Linked DNA regions of Homo sapiens: region 1 is linked to region 2. Evidence: promoter capture Hi-C in human tissues and cell types (Jung and others, 2019). All regions are on one chromosome and are shown on one strand. Each heading gives the region's core, a stretch centred on a gene start or on the middle of the fragment in contact. The rest is flanking DNA. Distances are from core to core; before and after follow the strand shown. Region 1 holds the start of TRL-CAG1-7 (tRNA-Leu (anticodon CAG) 1-7). Region 2 holds the start of BTN3A1 (butyrophilin subfamily 3 member A1).

Region 1 (6,239 bases), core at 1,560-4,059, 120 kb after region 2:
CTCGGCTCACTGCAACCTCCGCCTCCTGGATTCAAGCGATTCTCCTACCTCAGCCTTCCAAGTAGCTGGGATTACAAGCGTGTGCCACCACGCCTGGCTAATTTTTTTTTTTTTTTTAATTTTTAGTTGAGATGGGTTTACACCATGCTGGCTAGGCTGGTCTCGAACTCTTGACTTCACGTGATCCACCCGCCTCGGCCTCCCAAAATGGTGGGATTACAGGTGTGAGCCACTGCACCTGGCCATTTTCAACCTTTTATAAAACTATCTAGCCAGGGCAACATAATAACAAAACAATAAAAAACAGCCAGGCCAGCTGGTGTGTGCCTGTAGTCCTAGCTACTGTAATCCTTGCTCCTGTACTCCTCCTGGGAGTTCGAGGCTACAGTGAGCCAGGATCATGCTGCTACTCTCTAGCGCGGGCAACAGAGCCAGATCCCGTCTCAAAAAATACATACATGTATTGTTTCTAAATTGGGCTTTTCCTCCCCCACTTCTCTTTCTTTAGAGGGCAATTCTATTTTTCACTGGGGAACTAAGCTGGGATTTCTCATGAGGCCTAGAGACTGGAGTTAAAATAACTACTTTATTAGAGGTCTCAGCTTCTCTCCATTTTATTATTTTTTTTAATTTTTTATTCTTTTTTTAAAAAAATAGAATGCTCCCGTCGGGCTCAGTGGCTCACGCCTGTCATACCAGCACTTTGGGAGACTGAGATGAGTGGATCGCCTGAGGTCAGGAGTTCGAGACCAGCCTGGCCAACACAGTGAGACCCCCGTCTCTACTAAAAATACAAAAATTAGCCGGGCATGGTGGCGGGCGCCTGTAATCCCAGCTCCTAGGGAGGCTGAGGCAGGAGAATCGCTTAAACCCGGGAGGAGGAGGTTGCAGTGAGCCGAGATCGCGCCATTGCACTCCAGCCTGGACAACGAGAGCGAGACTTCGTCTCAAAAAGGAATGCTTCACAAATTTGCCTGTCATCCTTGTGCAAAGGCCATGCTAATCTTCTCTGCATTGCTCCAATTTTAGTGTAAGTGCTTGCCGAAGGGAGCACAGCTCTGTCCATTTTATTTCATGTTTCTTGGGCTCACTGCCCCATTATAGTGTAAGCCCTTCGATGGTGGAGCTTATTCTGTCTGTTTGTTTACTGTTGGATCACCAGCACCTAGAATGCTGCCTGGCACATAGTAGGTACCCAATAAATATTTCCTATATGTTGGATGAATTGCCTCTCTCCTCATCTCCAAAGTTGGTATCCACCACTACCCTGTGAAAAGAGCAGAGGTGACTGAATTTTAGAGGCCTTGCAGAGGACTTATTAAACACTTACTGTGGGACTCTATCCTCATAACTTTTTAATTTACTTATTTGTATTTTTAAAATCAACAAATAAAGATATATATATTTATGATGTACAAAATGATGTTTTGTTCTATGTGTACATTGTGGGAAGGCTAAATCAAGCTAATTAACATATCCATTACATCACATACTTATCTTTTTCTTTTTGTGGCAAGAACATTTAAAATCCACTCTCTTAGCAATTTTCAAGTATTCAATAACGTTGTTATTAACTATAGTCACCATGTTGGACATAGCAAAACTTCTGAATCGGTAGGCCTGAGAAGAACAGAATTTGCCTCTAATTGATTCCCTGGAGATGGGGATTTAATGCTTAATTTAAGGGATTAAACATTGTATTCTATCAATTGAACTCACGATGAAAGTATTATAGGTGTCTAAGAAAGCTGTTTCTAATGTCCACAGAAGCAAAATGACTTATCTAAGATTCTCCAGGTAGTGACCAGTTCTAGTTCTGTCTGAAATTCGTACTCAGGTCCCCTGACTTCCAGTCAGTGATATTCCGACCATGGCATCCTGACTGCTAACCCTTGCTAACAAAATTTGAAGTAGGTCACCTCTGACCTTTGTTTATGTTTAGAAAAGTTGTTGTGCTCAAGGCCTTCTATCAAGTACCCGCTGCGCCAGGTTTAGTAAAATACATAAGCTACTCCCCATTTTTGTTGTTGCTGTTTTTGCTTTTGCTTTTTAAAGTTTTTATTACAGTATAACATCCACACCGAAAAGTGCGCAAATCCTCCATAAACTCCGACAGAGAGGCAAGACAAGCCAGGCTTCCCACGCTCCTGTCCCCTCCACCGGCCCTGCCAAGGGTAACCACGTGCTGGGAGATTTGCAGCACAACGCAAAGGAGAAGGATTAGCGAGCACCTTGTTCCAGCAAAAACTGGAGCAAGCCTAAAACTTCCTGGGAATTAAGTGTAAATTTAAGCCAGGTATTCTAGTAATGTTGAGTTCAACAGGATTGCCATTATTTTAACTAGAATTCAGTTGAGAGCAGAGCGCCATCGCCGTCTTCCGCCTTAGTCACTCGGCCCTGGGCTGGCTCACGCCCGCCCCGCCCCCTCCCCGCCCCTCCCACGCCCGCCCCGCCCCTCCCACGCCCCCGCCCCCGTCCCGCTCCCCCTACCCCGACCCGCCCTCCCTCGCCCGCCGCCCCACCCGCCGCAGCCCTCCCCGCGCAGCCTGGGAGTGACTCGGCGTTCACTCGGGAGACGCCGCTCTGTGGCCCGGACAACCGGTCCTATGCAGCGCCGTCCGAGGCAGTTCGCGGAGAGGCGGCTTACCTTTTAACCCAGGAATGCCCATATCTTGAGAAAAAGAACAACAAGGGGGTGGGCGGGGGTGGGGACATGGGGTAGGGGGGCGGCTGGTGGATGGGGAACTAATAGCGTTTAGACAAGAGACAGAAGTGAGTCCTGAGCACAATGTAGCATAAGCGCGTCAGGATGGCCGAGCGGTCTAAGGCGCTGCGTTCAGGTCGCAGTCTCCCCTGGAGGCGTGGGTTCGAATCCCACTCCTGACAGTTCGTACTTTTAGTATTTAGACACAAATCGAGTTTAAGTTTACGCTACGTTTTCCTACCTGCTCTTTGTGACATGGTCTTCTCTCTTTTTAAAAAATAAATTTTCCGAGTTCCGGAATAAAAGCACTCTTTGTTTTTATTAGCCACTCCAAGGACAGCAAAAAGTACTCTGTACTCCGAAAATAATTTCAGAACCTACCGGTGTTTTGAAATCTCACCTCCTTTTTCCGTTTCTCCTCTGTCTCTAGTTGTCTTTCCCTCTCCCTCCTTCACAGGCAGAGTTGAATAAATGTTACTCTTCAGTTCATGGCTCATTACATTACTGCAGGGCTCCTCTTTATTTAGTTATAGTTATCTTTTTAATTCCATTTCTTCAGTCTCATTCCCCACCTCATCCTTACTCCCCGTAAGAAATCACTGCAAGAGTTCCGGTCTGGCAGAGAGCGCGGAGAGACGCAGAGCGCGGGCCGCTCCTCCAGGGCGCTCCAGGCCCTCCGGCCCCGGGTCGGCGGGTGAGCTAGGGGGCGCCCCGGGACAGGCCGCGCCCTCTGCCCTGCAGATACCGGAGGCCTCTGCTGTGGCTGCCCACTGGCTGGGCCCAGGCCTTGAAGCGGTGGCGAACGTCTCTTCCCTACCCTACCTCGGTGACTGATGGCGGCGGCGGCCTCTCCCAGTCCGGACCCTGCCGGCCGTCGGGTCTCCCGGCCCAAGCCTGCCGGGCCTGGACGAAACCCCCGCCGAGCAGCCTGGACGCAGCGCCTTTGGGTGGCGGCGGGAGTAGCGTGCCGGGAAGCATGGCGGCCGCTCGAACGCCGCGCGGCGGAGGGCGTTAGGGCATGGAGGGCCCGGGAAGGCGGCCTAGGGACGCAGGCAGGCTCGGCCGCCTCTTCAGGCCACGGAGCCGCCAGATCTGGGTCCCGGGTGACCACTCTGTCGCCATTGGGCGAGACCTACCTAGTCCTAACGACAACGGACAAAGGCCTTAACGGGCCTGGGAGGTGAGCGAAGTCCCGAACGACGACGGGTGGAACGGTTAGCGGCGATCGGGCGGTTGGTCTCCGTACTACCAGACCTTGCTGTCGGAAGAGACAAATGGTAGAATGACAGGCCACGTTTGGCCCGTTGGAAATGCCCTCCATCCTCTGGGAAGATTCACAGGCCGTTTACGGAAGGCCTGTGTATATAATATGAAAAAGCTGCTCTCAACTCCACCCCAACCTTTTAATAGAAAACATTTGTCACATCTAGCCCTTCTAGATGGAAAGAGGTTGCCGACGTATGATAGAGTTAGAAAGTCACACATCTTGTAAATTCTCATTTGTTTAAAAGAAATCATAGAAAATACATGTCTTCCGGAGTTGACTTTTGGAAACTGAGTTGTTAGACGGCCTCTAGAAGCGATACGTTCACGTTTGTTCAGTGGGTTAGATGACATGGAGCTCGAAGACCTGAGAAGGAAAAAAAGAAGGTTCTATGCTAGACTGGTCATATTTAGAAGACATTTTCATATTCTATCCATTGTTTTGTGTGCATTCGCTTCCTCACTACTATGTATGTAGTTGACAATGCTAAGCTTTTTTGAAATGTCTATTCTTTTTAGATATTCTGAAGTGTCTGATATATGTTAAAATTAGAGGTAGTAAAACCACATTTTGTAAATATCTTTTTGTTACAATTCATAGAAATGTTGTTTTTTGGGGGGAATGGCCAAATCACCTGTTGAGTAATACTCATTGTGTTTGTGCAGTAGTTCAGGGGAGGAGAGAGGAGGGGGAGGTGCAGAGAGCTCTATGCCATCCTGCTTACAGCGAGGCAAGATGAATCACTATGTCTGTGCATTTTGTTTTATCTATGTATATAATGTACATAAAGGACAAACGAGTCCTAATTTACAACATCTAGTCTTTCTGGATGTTAAAGAGGTTGCCAGTGTATAACAAAACTAGAGTTAGTAAACTAATATATTTTGTACATTTTGTTTTACAAGTCCTAGGAAAGACTGTCTTCTGAAAATTTGAGCATTCTTGCCCACTGGGTTGATGGAGATGGGAAGGGTTCTAGGCCAGAATGTTCACATTTGGAAGACTCTTTCAAATTATAACTGTTGTTACATGTTTGCAGTTTATTCGAGACTGCTGTGTACATACATAGTGGACAAATTAACTCCTTACTTGAAACATTTAGACTATCTAGATGTTTAGAAGTGCCCGATGTATATTAAATGTAGAGGTAGTAAAATACCAATTTGTAAATATCTTTTTGCTAAAATTCATAGGAAATACTTTTGGAAGTTGAATTGTGAAGCCACCTTTGTGAGCAGTATATTACTGTCTATACTTGCTCAATGGTTTAGAGGAGGTGGGAGGGAAGAAATTGCAAAAGATAATATGCTAGTGTGTTCATACTTGGACATTTTCAGACACCATTTTTCTGTATGTTTTGTGCATTTTGTTTTGCTCTGTATATAGTGTATATAATGGACAAATAGTCTTAATTTTTTAACATCTAGAGGTTGCCAGTGTATGACAAAGTAGTAAAATTAGCATATTTTGTATGCTTTGTGTTGAAATTCATAGGAAAACTTGTCTTCTGTAATTGACTTTTGCATAGGAATTTGTTCAGCCATCTCTAAGCATTACACATGCGTGTACTTGTCCACTGAATTGAAGGCAGAGAAGGAAGAGAAGAGGGAATGATTCAAGGCCAAAATGGTCACATTTAGAAGATACCTTAGATGATAACCATTGTTATGTGTGTGCAGTTTTATTTAACAGTGCCGTGTACATGGTGGACAGGCTATGAAATATCTAGTCTTTAGATATTTGGAAGTGCTTGATGTATTTTAAAGTAGTAGTAGTAGAATAACACTTTTTGTAAATAGCTTTTAAAAACTGATGGGAAATGCTGTTTGGAAGTGGATTTGTTGAACCACCTGGGAGGTGGGAGGGAAAAAATTGCAAAAGGTGTTTTGCCATTGTTTATTAGAAAATTTCAGCTTAATCCATTGCCTATATGTTACAAGCATTTCATTTAACTTTGCTATACTGTATATATTGTGTATATACTGGACAAATGAGTCCTGATTTTATAATATCTAGTCTGTAGCTATTAAAGAGGTTGCCAGTGTATGACAAAAGTAGTTAGTAAACTAACGCATTTTGTACACTTTGTTAAAATTCATAGAGAGGCTGTCTTCTGAAAAGGACTTTTTGGAAGTGAAATGATAACATCAGCTCGAAGTGACACATGTGCTTATATCCACCAGGTTGGTGGTGGAGAGGAGTTGGAAGGAATGAAGGGTTCTAGACCAGAATGTTCCTATTTAGAAGACACTTTCAGATATAACCATTGTT
Region 2 (6,301 bases), core at 1-2,500:
TCTACCAGATGGAAAAGAACGTTGTAGTACCTAAGAAAATTAGGCCTTATCACCAAGAAGAAAGGGGGAATGCATGATGCAGAAGGGACCAGCCATCTCAATCAGATACTACACAGTCTAAATTCAAACATTTACAATATAATTAAATTGCATCAGCCCCAGTCACATCTTAGCCTTAGGAACTTCGATCATTGACTTGCAATCCCAGAAAGTCTGTTTTGAGGTCCTAGGCCACAGGAAGAACCAATTTGTTTTATAGACATCTTACAGAGACAGCATTCACAGTTTATCTAGAGTCTGGCCTCAGAGAATATGTACTCCACTGGCAGCAGGAGAAACAAATACACAGGAAAATACAGTGTAGCACAGAACAGGAGCTGAGGGTGAATGGAGATGCTCAGAAACACCTGCACTAAAAATTTGCTGAAAAAGGTAAAACGTGTCAAGCAGCACTGCCTCTGGAAGCCAGAAAAATTACATTTTTTGATAACAGATCCTAAGCCTGGATGCTGGAGGTGCTTAAAAATGTGCATTGTGGGCCGGGTGCAGTGGCTTAAGCCTGTAATCCTAGCACTTTGGGATCTGAGGAGGGAGGATCACTTGAGCTCAGGAGTTTGAGACCAGCCTGGCCAATATGGCAAAACCCTGTCTCTACTAAAAATACAAAAAGTAGCCGGGCATGGGGCGAGCACCTGTAATCCCAGTTATTCAGGAGCTGAGGCAGGAAAATCACTTGAACCTGGGAGGCGAAGGTTGCAGTGAGCCAAGATCCTGCAACTGCACTCCAACCTGGGTGACAGAGTGAAACTCCGTTTCAAAAAAAAAGTGCATTGTGTCTGGTTTTCTTTCCATTCATACGTTTATTTGACTCTGTAGTAAAATCTCCTCCTCCTCCATGTACCCATATTCATGCAAGCAAATGTTAGCAAACTGCCACAGTAGCATTTTAATTAGTGCTCATCTTTCTCTCTTCACCACATTAAAATCTTTTCCCATTGTGTTCTGCTGATATTTCTATTATGATAAAAGACTTAAGACAAGTGACTATATAGAAATACGTATATACACACAAGAATGAAAGAGATAAACAGTAAGGGAGGTAGGGCAGGAATTTTTCTTCAACGTGTACAATTCAATGTACTTTCAGTTTTCATTTCAGCCTTCCTCAGTGGTTTCTGCCCAGCAACTGATGAGAAACATCACCTCTGAGCCAATCAAAAAACTTATTCTTCCAAAGAGAGATTGTTATTATTCCTCACGATGACCCGACAGTCTCTGCTTTCTTTTTCCTTTCTTCCAGAAGGAGATTTAACCATAGTAGAAAGAATGGAGAACTATTAACTGCCTTTCTTCTGTGGGCTGTGATTTTCAGAGGGGAATGCTAAGAGGTGAGTGGGGGAAGTCGATTAGAGCCTGGTTCACAATGCCTGGGAGGACAGGGGCTGAATCGCTGAGAGTGGTGAGTGGGCATGCAGGGAGAGTACTCACCCAGAGAAAGGGGTGTGTGCCTGAGGGGGTGCGCACGCACACATGTGGACACATGGAAAGGGGAGAAGTAGTGCAAAGAATAAAGACCTGCAGAGTTTGGGATTTGGTGAAGAAATAGTCTAATTGCATGTTCTTAAGAACGTATTGTAGTCAGAAAAGGGCAAACAATCTTTAAAATCTGTTCTGGACAACTCAAGGCATCTATTCTAAGAGATTCTAAAAAGAGGTGTCCTTTATAGATTCATATGTAAATTTGTTCATTACAGAAGTATTAAAAATGTAGAAAAACCTGAACCAGCATACATATACAACAGGCGGGGGATAGACAAACAATGCATGGTTCAATCATAAAAGAGATTTCCATGCAGCCTTTAGGAATCGTGTTTTTAATGAAGGGCAATTATTTATAATTTTAGCAATGTTAGATCCATACATTAAACCTTGTTTTAAAATCTTTTAGGAACAGTATGTGTTTTTCCTTTTATTCATCATTTCCCCCAAACCTAACGAATGCTATCCAATGGATACAATCTATTTCATTGTATGAATATACAATTTTTTTGTTTGTTTTGAGATGCAGTCTTGCTCTATCACCCAGGCTGGAGTGCAGTGGCATGTTCTCGGCTTACTGCAGCCTCTGCTTCCTGGGTTCCAGTGATTCTCCTGCCTCAGTCTCCTGGGTAGCTGAGATTACAGGTGCACGCCACCACACCCAGCTAGTTTTTGTATTTTTAGTAGATTCGGAGTTTCGCCATATTGTCTAGGCTGGTCTCAAACTCCTGACCTCAGGTGATCTGCCCACCTCAGCCTCCCAAAGAGCTGGGATTACAGGCGTGAGCCACCACACCCAGCCTTTAAAATTATTTTTAAACACTTCCCTAGTTTGGACTATTTCTCTTTTCTGCATTTGGCTATTGTAGATTTTACTGTATTGAGCAGCCTAAAACATAAATTTTTGTCTTAGTTCCTGATTTTCTTTTTTCTGCAACACTAATTCCTACAAGTGGAACATTTGGGTCAAAGCACACACCTTTTTTTTTTCTTTTAATAGCCATTCCTTAGCAAAGCATATAACTTTTTTTAAGGCCCTTTATATATATATGGTCAAAATACTTCCAGAAATATTTACCTTTTCACTACCAAAGTATATGACTACTACTATAGATATTTTATTTTATTTATTGATTGATTTGTAGAGATGGGGTTTCATTATGTTGACCAGGCTGGTCTTGAATTCCTGGGCTCCAGGGATCCTCCCATCTCAACTTCCCAAATTGCAAGGATTACAGGCATGAACCACTACTTAAACTTGTATTCCTTTATGCTTTTTTTCATTTGCAATATTGACTATAATCAGGAAAAAAAATATATCCTTTATGAAGAAGAAAAACTTATGTCTCATTCTAAGGACAGCAGAGAAATTGTTAACTCAGGGAAAATGATAATAAAAATGATACCCCCTCTATAGCAACATAAAGAGCAGTTTCGAGGAGCAAAAGATGTGGTGAAATGCATTGTTTACTCTGGGTGGGTGCAAGATCCAGGCAGGGGTGAAGCATGGCCGGCTGCACAGATCTCTGTTCTCTTGTTTCCTTTACATCCCTCCCCACCTCCCTCTGCAGATCTTGTTCTCAGAGGCCATTCCCAGACCCACAGCAAGAGGGATTATGGCTGCAGGCCTCATGCTCCTTTGTTTTGGAAGAAACTGTTGAGGAGTTAGTATTTACTGAGCAGCTAATATGTTCCCGTCACTATTGTAACTCATAATAATTATTGTTAAGTAATACACGAAAAGTTTTAAATTTAAAGCATTCCAATATTTTAAAAGTAAAGGGAACAAAAGGCCAAGTGTCCCTTCACTCACTAACCTCTGATCTTCAGATTAGCATGCGTCTTTTTTGAGTTTTTCAGGCATTTACATAAATAGTTATGCAGAAATGGATAGCTTTGCTTCTGTTCTTCAATTGAATCTTTAGTATAGTTGTGCAAGGTGTTTTTTGATCACTTAGTGTGTCTCCGTTATCTAGGTTCATGACAACAAATCAACTCTTTTTACCTGCTGCATTGAATTCCCTCCGAGGGATGAGCCGTCATTCCTCTAAGCAGTCTCCTGATGGGTGGCTGGTTCAGTTGGTTACCATTTTTATACTTTAAAAATAGTGCTGCAGTGTCATTCTCACAGAGGCTTCTGTCTGCACCCATGCAAGTACTTTGCTCGACTTGACATCAGGAAGTGGAACTGCTGGGCCAACTGTGCAATTCTAAATTTCACACTTCATGATATTGTATAAGTAAATAAAGTTGCAATGGTTTTGTCCCATGTCTGAGACCAAAGAGCTTGTGAATCTTAGAGCCTTTACTTATTGCTTACCCTCTTTGTGTCCCTAACCCTTATATCATGGGCCTGGCCCCTTGTGGGTGCTTGGTAAATATTTGTTGAATGACTTTATGAAGGGAAGAAAGAAAAGGTAAGTAAGGCCTGGTCTTATTTGCAGCTCTGTGATCACTAGCCTTGGATTAAATGTGGTGGGTTCAGCCCCTGACTGACTTCAGGTCCCCCACCAAGCAGTCTTCCTTAATCCTACCAGGAGTCCACTAGGCCATGAGTTGACCATGGTGATGGCCAAGAGTTGGGGCTTTGAGGAGTCCACAGTGTGGGACACCCACAGCGGTCGACCCCGGTGGAACCAGGGAGCCCAGTGAAGAGTGTCCTGCATGAATCAGAGGGGGATTGTGGTGGGTTGGACTTGGCAGGGGAAGTTTGGGGAAGTCATAGGATTCTGAATATTGTTAAACAGTACAGTGAGGATTTTCTGATCGAATAACAGATGTGCATTTCACATAGACATGTTTTTACAGGTGATTTTCAATGTTGGGACTCAAAGGTGAAGACACTGAAGGACAGAATTTTTGGCAGAGGAAAGATCTTCTTCGGTCACCATACTTGAGTTAGCTCTAGGGAAGTGGAGGTTTCCATTTGGAATTCTATAGCTTCTTCCAGGTCATAGTGTCTGCCCCCCACCTTCCAGTATCTCCTGATATGCAGCATGAATGAAAATGGCAAGTTTCCTGGCCTTCCTTCTGCTCAACTTTCGTGTCTGCCTCCTTTTGCTTCAGCTGCTCATGCCTCACTCAGGTAGGGAACAATTCCACGCTTGTTTCTGAAGCAGACAATTACCTAATTATGTCCTCATAGGACTTTTGACTCCTTCCCAAACCTGAAGTCCATCCCGATCTGAAGGTTCACCCGTCACTAAGAGACAAATGGTGCTTCTGTTAAGATCAGTTTCCCCCACCAGTTTCTTTGTATCTCGCCTTCCCTGTCTGAGAAGCACCCTTCCTCTCATGACCCCAACTCCAAAACCCTCTGACAGATCCTCCCCCTTGTGCCTACAGCTCAGTTTTCTGTGCTTGGACCCTCTGGGCCCATCCTGGCCATGGTGGGTGAAGACGCTGATCTGCCCTGTCACCTGTTCCCGACCATGAGTGCAGAGACCATGGAGCTGAAGTGGGTGAGTTCCAGCCTAAGGCAGGTGGTGAACGTGTATGCAGATGGAAAGGAAGTGGAAGACAGGCAGAGTGCACCGTATCGAGGGAGAACTTCGATTCTGCGGGATGGCATCACTGCAGGGAAGGCTGCTCTCCGAATACACAACGTCACAGCCTCTGACAGTGGAAAGTACTTGTGTTATTTCCAAGATGGTGACTTCTATGAAAAAGCCCTGGTGGAGCTGAAGGTTGCAGGTGAGCCTCCAGGTTTTGTTCTGAGAACATTTCTCTGTAGGATCTAGAGCAGATGCAGAGTCCCTCTTGCAAAAGCACTGCAGACACTCCTGGCTGCTCACTAGCAATTGCCTGCACTGCCTCCCAACTTAGCTTCTCTGAGGCCCTTGAGTAAGACACAGGTTTTCCTTTAGGAAGAATTCCTGCTGTACCCTACATGCTCAAGTAAAGAACTCCTTTCCTCTGGCCACCAGAGATATAAGGGAAGTGAAGGACAAGGGATAGAAAGCATAAGAAATCATCTCTTCAGTGACTAGTACACAGTCATTCGTGTTTAGTTCTGTACTGGATGGCTTCTGTGGCTCCACTAGGTACATGCTATTGTGGGCCCTAGAAGACTGGGCTATCTGGACTGTATCTGCTGCCAATGTTCTTGAGCCAATGACCCTAGAATACACCTGTAGTCATGGGAGCTGTGTTTCTTACTTGTTGCAGTGAGGAAGAACACATATCATGGGGAGCTGTGGTGGAGTCTCAGTAAGAAGCTGTTAGAGCAGACTTAGTATATAATTTGGGCTTGTGTTAGGGGATTTGGGAGGAGGGTTTATAGACTTTGGCCTCTGCTCTGGATGAGACACTGCTAGGAAGGTGTGGGCAGGTTAATTCTATGAGTGAGAACCTTAATCAATCTTATCTAGGAAGAAAGAGACCAGGGTGAGACTAAAGCTGTAATTGATGAAGGGACAGCAATCCCTCATTGCTGATGGGGGTTGTTTGGTCACTGCTGTGGTTTGGACAATGTTCATGTTTTTCTCTGTGCTCACACATGATGTGGGGTGGTCTTGTTTTTCCCATGATCCATCATAGTCACAAAGTGCCATCATCTGATGCTGGTGTTCTGTGAAATTGCTTTTGTTCAACAGGAGGACACTGAGTCCTGTTGCTGCTTCCAGATAAAGGGACTGCTCTTTTCTTTCTTAGTGCAATGCTTTTCCCTGTGGCTTCTGTTTAAGGGTTTGGTCAGCAGGGATCTGTAGCAGACGATGAAGGGAGGGAGAGAAAAGAGAGATCTGGGTGCTTAGTCCCTGGC

Evidence for each region. Contacts are between HindIII fragments. The study calls those that stand out against the background at their distance.
Region 1: a fragment that was not itself captured here is called in contact with the fragment with the promoter of BTN3A1 in region 2 in 2 of the 25 tissues and cell types used here (neural progenitor cells and small bowel).

What each region holds. Positions count from the first base shown.
Region 1 is chr6:26,518,405-26,524,643 of GRCh38, forward strand. It overlaps TRL-CAG1-7 (tRNA-Leu (anticodon CAG) 1-7), which reads left to right and starts at 2,804; the gene lies at 2,804-2,886. HCG11 (HLA complex group 11) reads left to right here and starts at 3,302. Exons shown (of 1, transcript NR_026790.1): 1 at 3,302-6,239. It overlaps LOC107986583 (a long non-coding RNA gene), which reads right to left. Exons shown (of 4, transcript XR_001744057.3): 1 at 3,105-6,239. It also overlaps the pseudogene RNU6-502P. RefSeq lists silencers at 2,408-3,007, 3,238-3,757. The HindIII fragment of the contact is 7,569 bases long and covers 1-6,239 here.
Region 2 is chr6:26,401,025-26,407,325 of GRCh38, forward strand. BTN3A1 (butyrophilin subfamily 3 member A1) reads left to right here and starts at 1,251. Exons shown (of 10, transcript NM_007048.6): 1 at 1,251-1,388; 2 at 4,348-4,624; 3 at 4,885-5,232. The coding sequence starts at 4,540. RefSeq lists an enhancer at 1,159-1,218. The HindIII fragment of the contact is 20,018 bases long and covers 1-6,301 here.